2 separate regions of the Homo sapiens genome follow, and region 2 is linked to region 1. The links are contacts of gene promoters, found by promoter capture Hi-C in blood cells and fetal thymus (Javierre and others, 2016). All regions are on one chromosome and are shown on one strand. The core of a region is centred on a gene start or on the middle of the fragment in contact, and the rest is flanking DNA. Distances in the headings are between cores, read along the strand shown.

Region 1 (3,592 bases), core at 510-3,009:
TATGCCTTTCAGGAAAGCTGTCAGATTCATCCACTGGAACAGAAGCCTCGCCCTGCAGGGATTTTTGTCAGCTTTGCTCACTGCTGTCTCCTCAGCAATACGAAAAACAGTTCCTGGTACGTGGTAGGTACTTAGGAAAAACCTGATGATGAATGGAAGCCTGCATACAAGTGTGACTTTTCTGAAAGTCTGATCTCATAAAAATACAGTTCTGAAAACACAAGGTAAGAGCTCAAAGGCACAACCTTTCCATGCAGACTGTCCATTCGTAGGGAGATGGGAGGAAAGCAGACCCTTTTTTTTGTTTCTGCTGACCTTGGACAGCTGTGCTGCCGTGTTACCTCTGGTCCCCAGAAAAACCATGGCCATAGCAGATGAAATGCTGAAGGGAGAGATGAAGATGTTTCCAGCCGGATTGTTCTCACTCAACGCCAGGAACAGGTCCAAGGCGAAGCGGGTGTTTGCTGAGCTCAGCTGCTCCATGGTGAAAACTGCAACACAGAACAGGGTCCTCATGGTGCCCACTGCCCACGCCAGCAGATTAGGCAGCACTATTTCTCCAGAAGCTTCCTCAATTTCTGCCAACCGCCCTGAGGCATCCTGGATCTTGTACTTTCTCCCCGCTTTTTTATTCCAGCAGGGCAAGAACACTTTCCCAGGCCCACAAATGTGGGACCATTCTGGCCAAGGACTCAGCAGTTATAGGGGATTTTAGGGCACCCAGGGTGCCCTAAAGGGCTCTGACCTTGCAGACAGGTGAGTCTGGGGGTGGGGCGGGGGTAAGGCAGGCCCCAGCTACCCCAGCTTTAGTGGGGTGGGAGGGCCCACCCAGCCCTGGGTCTTCCCAACCTATGTGTGGGAGCGCACGTGCTTCTGAGCCTTTGATTCAAGTCTCTGATTCATTGGGCAATGAATCCATTGCCTACCTTCACCTGAACTAAGAGCCTTCTATCAGAGACTCAGCTACCTACTATGCATTAAAACTCCAGCAAAGGTATCACTGTAATTATTATAATAATATAATTCTTCCTTATTTTTGAGGTTCAAAAGGTATGAGGTCCAGTGCCCACAGTCTCAGAGCCGGTGTAGGATGTGCCAGTTTGGAAACCCACCACAGTCCAGGGTCTGGCCGTGCAGCGTCCCATCCGCCACCCACTAGCCCATCTCGATCTCCACTCTCAGAGCCCTGATTTCCCCCGAGGACAGGCAAAGAAGAACCGTGCTGGCTGCTCGGCATGTAAGCACAAAGCTGATTTCTCCTTGTTGTGAAATCGTCTCTAGAATCGCACGGGGTTCCTCCTCTCTCTCCCTGCAGCTGCAGATAGGAGCCGCGGCCTGGCCCTGGGCTGCCTGGAAACCGTCACAAACAGCTCTGGGAGGAAGGGAATTCAGGGAGAAGGGACAACATTCTGATCTCAGGTTTCAGTCTTGCCTTCCGCCTGCATCTGTCGTCCTCCCTCCCTCCCTCCCTCGCGGGCTGGCCCGGCCTGTACCCAGGCGGGGGCGGGGGATCAGAGGTCGTCTGTCTCCGTCGGGGCGCCCGGAAGGGATGGGGGCGCGAAGCTGGCGGGGAGGGCGAGCGCAGGGAGCTGCGGGTCTGAGGGGCCTGAGCCTGGGGGGTGGGGGGTGCCGGGCTGGAAGCTGAGCGAGGGAGCCTGGCCTCTCCCCGCGCCCGCCCCCGCGCCACCGCTCCGAGGCCCGGCCTTACCCGACAGGCCGCCGAGGCACGCTCCGGGCTCCGAGCTGGGTGCGAGGTCAGGAAGGAGGCACCGAGGGCCGCTGCTCTTATAGCAGGCGGAAGCGTCACCCGGGCCAGCAGCCGCGGGCGGGGCGGCGGCCCTTCCCGGTGACTGCGTAGGAGTCCGAGCTCCCGAGGTCGCCTAAGTGCAAGCAGAAGTGAGCGTGGCTTCCGGGCAGCGCCCTCCTCAGGGGCGCGGCTTCTTTCTCAGTTCAAAGCCTTTCCCCGAATCTCTGGCAAGGACCTGAAAAGCTTTTTCTTACTAAGGTGTGAATGACTGAGACGACATATTGTGACACCTCTTAGAGGGCAAATGACTCCCTTTGAGTCCCATCTATATTGGGAGCTTTCTTTGAGAGAAGGAAGCAAATTTGGGGATCTTGCACAGGGAAAAAGAGGGGCCCCCAGAATCAGATGAAACAGAACCAGTTCCAAACACCTGCTCTCTGTTTCCAAGATGACAGCTTGCTGCTGCGTCCTCAATGGTGGAAAGTGGAAGGGCAAAAGGGGCCAAATCTCATGTGAAGTCTCTCGTATAAGGGGCCAATCCCATTCATGAGGAAGGTGCCCTCATAATCCAGTCACCTCCTAAAGGCACCACCTGTTAGTATTGCATTGAGGATTGTTTCAGCATGAATTTTGCAGGGAACACAGACATTCAAAGCATAGCATTCTGCCCCTGCCCTCCAAATTCATACCCCTCTCACATGCAAAATGCATGCATTGTATCCCAGTGGCCTCCAAAGTTCCAGTATCAACTTTAAAATGTAAGTCCAAAGTCTCACCTAAATATCTTCTAAATTAGAAAGGCATAAGATTCAAAGTACAATTCATCCTAAGTGAAATTCCCCTCCAGCTATGAGCCCGTGAAATCAAATAGGTTACAGGCCTTCAAAATACAGTGATGAGACAGGCATAGGACGTACATTCCCATTCCCAAAGGGAGAAGCAGGCAAGAAGAAAGGAGTATCTGGTCCCAAGTAAGTCCAAACCCAACAAGGCAAACAGCATTAAATCTTGGGGCTTCAGAATAATCTTCTTTGATGCTGTGTCCCCCATTCCGAGCACAGGGGGGTGGAGACTGGGTCCCCTAGTGTCCAGGGGATCCACTCCCATGGATTTGCCAGGTGCAACCCATGCAGCAGCTCTCACAGGTTGAGGTCTAGGCTCTCCCAGGATAGACTTGCATGCTGGTGGCTGGACAGTTCTGGGTTCTCAGGGACAGCCCTGTTCCCACAGCTCCACTAGATATTACTCTATTTGGGGCTCTCTGCAGTGGCCCCAATCCCACTGCTCCACTAAACATTGCCCTAGTGAGGGTTTTCTGCAGCAGCCTCACCTCAGTGACAATTCTCAGACTGGGCCCCCAGGGTCCCCAACACATCCTTCAAAATCTAGGTGGAGGTGGCTGTGTCTCCACAGTTCATGCACTCTGTGCACCTGCAGAGTTAGCATCACGTGGACTCTGCCAAGGCTTACAGGAAGGGTGGCCTGACAAGGGCCTGCATAAGCCACACGTGGGATGGTGGCCAAAGAGTGCTGCACCAGAATGTGGGGGGTGGGGGGGCAGAGACTTGAGGCAGCCCTAGGCAGCAAGCCCCAAGGTTCCATGGTGTCCTGAGTCCTCCCTTAAAACTATTCTGCCCTCAGGGTCCTGGCACTCTGGGACAGGGATGAGAATCCAGAACCAGTAACCTCAGAAATGCCTTTGGGTTCATTCTTCCATTGTCTTGATAAATAGCATCTGGCTTCCTTCTACACATACTCATCTCATTATCAAATGTGAACCTGGCAGCACTCTTGGTGTTCCCTCCCAAACATGCCTTTTCATTCTTTACATGGCCAGGCTGAGAA
Region 2 (3,760 bases), core at 153-2,652, 71 kb before region 1:
CAAGCCTATTTCTCCATACATTTCTTAGTGTTTTTTGATAACAAGAAAATGCTTTCTCTATCTGATAAATGAAATGGTTGGCATATCCCTGAGCTATACGTATCAGAAAAGCACCTTTGAATCAAATTTCCAGTTTTAGGAATTTTTAATCTAAATACTAGGAGTCATTGTGAACAGTAAAATAATGATTTTAAGGTCATTATTTTAATGGGTTTTTAAAAATTACTTTAACAGTATTTTTATTTTGAAAATTAAACAATCGGTATTTTCTGTAACTCCAGGCTCTGTCTTCAAGGTGAATGTTGGAAGAGCTAATGATTACTGTTTATTTAAATGGGTTTCTGAAATAAAAGGACACAAGCTATTTTTATAAACAAAGCCACTTAGGGATTTAAAAAAAAATAAACATTAAAATTTTATTGGGCTGAGATCTGAGAGCTATACTCTAAATAAAAAAAAATTAAATTTTTAGGCATAACTTTAAAAAATTTTTTTTTGTAACTTTTTAATCATACATAGAATATTTCACAAAACTCTACTGAGCCTTTTTTGAACCTTTTTGAATAAAAAGACCCTTTTAAAGTTCTGACGAGGCGTTAGCATTCTAGGTTTCATATTGGACCACTGACTCATCTTAGTATTTTTTCCCCATAAAACAGCATAATAGGAATAATAATAATATGATTGAGTGCTTGCTGTGGAAGAAGATTCTGGAAGTGTTAATGTTTTTGTGTGTTCTTGTCTATAAATAAATAGCTGTTACATATAAGCTATGTGCCAGTTCAGCCTTTGGTAGAAGATGGTTTTCTGAGTAAAGAAATCATTTATGTTGAAACTAAGCTAGAATTCTACTTAAAGCTATTAGTCTACCAGCAAGAGATCAGGCTTGGACGGGCATTCCAGAAGATGTGTTTCAGACTTAAAAGCAAGAGTTGTACTCCCCCAAATATTGCATCTATATTCAGTGAATATAAGGCTGCTGCTATTCCTGAACTCGAAAGATAAAAATGAGGAAAAGGAAGGAAGGGATAGCCAACTTACATAGGATTCTGCAGGTGGCTGTTGACTGGAATCACTTTTTTCTGTTTTCCTCCCATGATTAGGACACTTTCCTTCCTCACGTGGAATGTGGGACGATCACTCTGATTGGGGCAACCACTGAAAACCCTTCCTTCCAGGTCAACGCTGCTCTTCTGAGCCGCTGTCGAGTGATTGTTCTTGAGAAGCTTCCAGTAGAGGCAATGGTGACTATTTTAATGCGAGCGATCAACTCCCTGGGAATCCACGTCCTAGACTCTAGCCGTCCCACTGACCCTCTGAGCCACAGCAGCAACAGCAGCTCAGAGTAAGTTGACAGTGTGCAGCGTCCTGGGGGCACACACCTCCCAGAGAGTCTCCTGGCAGGGGGCCAGAAAGGGCCGGGCGTCAGTGAGGAGAGGGTGGGGACAGAGAAGAAATGTTGATCCGCCCGTAATGAAAATAAAAGAGGAGGGAAATGTTCGATTATACCTAACAAAGTTATCCCTGCACACTTGAAGATGCATTTTCCAGCCTCTAATATGTGTTTCTATAATTCTTCAAGCTTTAACTTTGCTTTGTTGTTTTGGTTCTTGGGTGTTTGCTTTTGTGCTTAGGCTTCTATGGGAAGCCTTATTGATGATTTGAAAGGCTTTATGTCCCTCATTGAATAGAACAAATAGATAGATAAATACTTTCTAGACTTACCATACAACTCTTTTGAGCATTGTACTCATGTTTCAATTTCTTTTTAACCTGCAGTTTAGCATTTTGTTAAAAAAAAAAAATCAAGTAAAAATTAACTTGTAACCTTAAAATTATGTAATCCTTTTTGTGTAGTTGAAACTCAGTTTCATGAAAGTAAAGGAATGTTAACTGAATATGACATTATAGGCTGTCCCTATCCTTTTAGTGACCTATTTCTGCATCATGAGTACCACATGAGCTCGTTAATGCACCAAGTGTATATCATAGATAATTTGATTTCTTGGGTCAGGGGTTTTCCTTTTTTTTAATATTAGAACATATTCTTCAGATGGTATTTGTTCATACGTTGGCTGAAATACTGCCATGGAACATAATCTGGTGTGATGAGAGGCTATTGCCCACCTCCTCCTGCTGTGGACTCTGCAGCTGCTCGTGCCTGCCCTGAGGCCAAGTTCTGGAGCCACTTTTCTGTGAGGATTAAAGTACAAGGCATAGTTTAGGCTCAGGGTTTAGGTTTCACCAGGCTCTCCCTATGTGTCTGGCCCCATTTGCTCCTGTCTGAGATGGAGGGAGAATTCTGCTGTGTCTAATGAAAGCATTGAAACATTTGGCCCGTGGACCACTGGGTAGGACAGAGTGGCCTTGTTTTGGAATACCGTTGTGATGGGGATAGCCATTACATCTGTGGCCACAAGCAGTGTGTGGAACCTGTGGTATCAGCCACATGGACTCATACTCAGAAGTGCTTTATGTGGTGGGCATTTGTCAGAGCCTAAGGGGGCTGCCAGCTCCTCATATGTAGTACAGGTTGAGTATCCCAAATCTGAAATCCAAAATGCTCCCAAATCTAAAGCTTTTTGAGCACCTTCATGATGCTGTGAAAGGAAATGCTTATTGGAGCACTTCAGATTTCTGGATTTTGGGTGCTCATCTGGTAAGTATATAATGCAAATATTCTAAAATCAAAAAAATAGGAAATTCAGACCACTTCTGGTCCCAGGCACTTCAGATGTGGGATACTCATGTGTAGGTTTCCCGTAACAGAATTCTCATTACAGACGCATAGAACCACATGGTAAAGACAAATTGAAAGAAAAGGGGGGAAATCCTAACATGTTTCATGTTTCTGTGTGTTCTTTGCTCTGTGTACTGGTTATCGTAATGTATCTGCAACTTAATATTCTGCATGTGTACTTGTCTGGGGTGATTTTTATTGATTTCATGTCATCAGTTCATGAAATAGAACATGAAATCAATAATTAATATTGATGACATGAAGTCAATAATAATCAGTTGTTACTCAGATACCCTCAGGTTTTTTCACCTCTCCCCAGTCACTGCCGTGCAGGAATTTAAAGGAAATGAGAAAGGCGGCAGCCAAGGAGCTCATCCTTGTGAGAAGAATTTCTATATTTTATTATTAAAAATCCTCAGGTGATTTGCAGGCACATTAAAGTTTGAGAAGATCAAGTGAAATAATTAAGATTTAGTTATTGAAACTGATATAACAATGAGCTAGAGATTGTTTATCTGCTAAAATTGCTTTTCAGAGAAAACTTCCCATATCCAGTAAATGATTTACTATTTCCACTACCGCTTGCTTAGACTTGATCCCAATTATATTTGCTATCTTGTGTCCCCCGCTTTCCTGGGAAGACTGTGAGGACAGGAGCTTGTCCCTGTTCATATCCCCAGCACAGTGCCTGGCACACATTATGTGCTTTGTGAATGGTTTGGAAATGAATAAATCCTAGCTTTCGATATGAGAAAAGTAGTTTAATATGTTTTGCATTATCCAGCATAAGGGATAATTACCCAGGTATCAAGAGCCTTTTTCTTTAATACTATTGCCCTTTTCATCAGCAGCAAGCAGAGTAAAATGAAAGAATGTTAAGCTTAAAACCATTAATTGGTCAACTTGTTAGCAATTCTAACAAGAAGTTAAGTTAGGAGATATCATAGGCCACAGAAAGAACTCTTACAAGTGATTTCCGAATACAAGTACCTGCCACCCCAACTGTCAGGGATAATTAAG

What was found. Contacts are between HindIII fragments. The CHiCAGO score rates a contact against its expected background, and 5 or more counts as called.
Region 2: a contact is called between a fragment that was not itself captured here and the fragment with the promoter of SERPINB1 in region 1, in 3 of 17 cell types (megakaryocytes, total CD8 T cells and activated CD4 T cells). The highest score is 6.8, in megakaryocytes.

The regions. Positions count from the first base shown.
Region 1 is chr6:2,840,104-2,843,695 of GRCh38, forward strand. SERPINB1 (serpin family B member 1) reads right to left here and starts at 1,760. Exons shown (of 7, transcript NM_030666.4): 1 at 1,709-1,760; 2 at 316-491. The coding sequence starts at 483. RefSeq lists a silencer at 1,655-1,704. The HindIII fragment of the contact is 1,424 bases long and covers 565-1,988 here.
Region 2 is chr6:2,769,017-2,772,776 of GRCh38, forward strand. It overlaps WRNIP1 (WRN helicase interacting protein 1), which reads left to right. Exons shown (of 7, transcript NM_020135.3): 3 at 1,104-1,345. It also overlaps a transcript of MYLK4 not described here. Among named protein-coding and RNA genes, the nearest start is that of WRNIP1, 5.5 kb to the left of the region's middle. The HindIII fragment of the contact is 356 bases long and covers 1,225-1,580 here.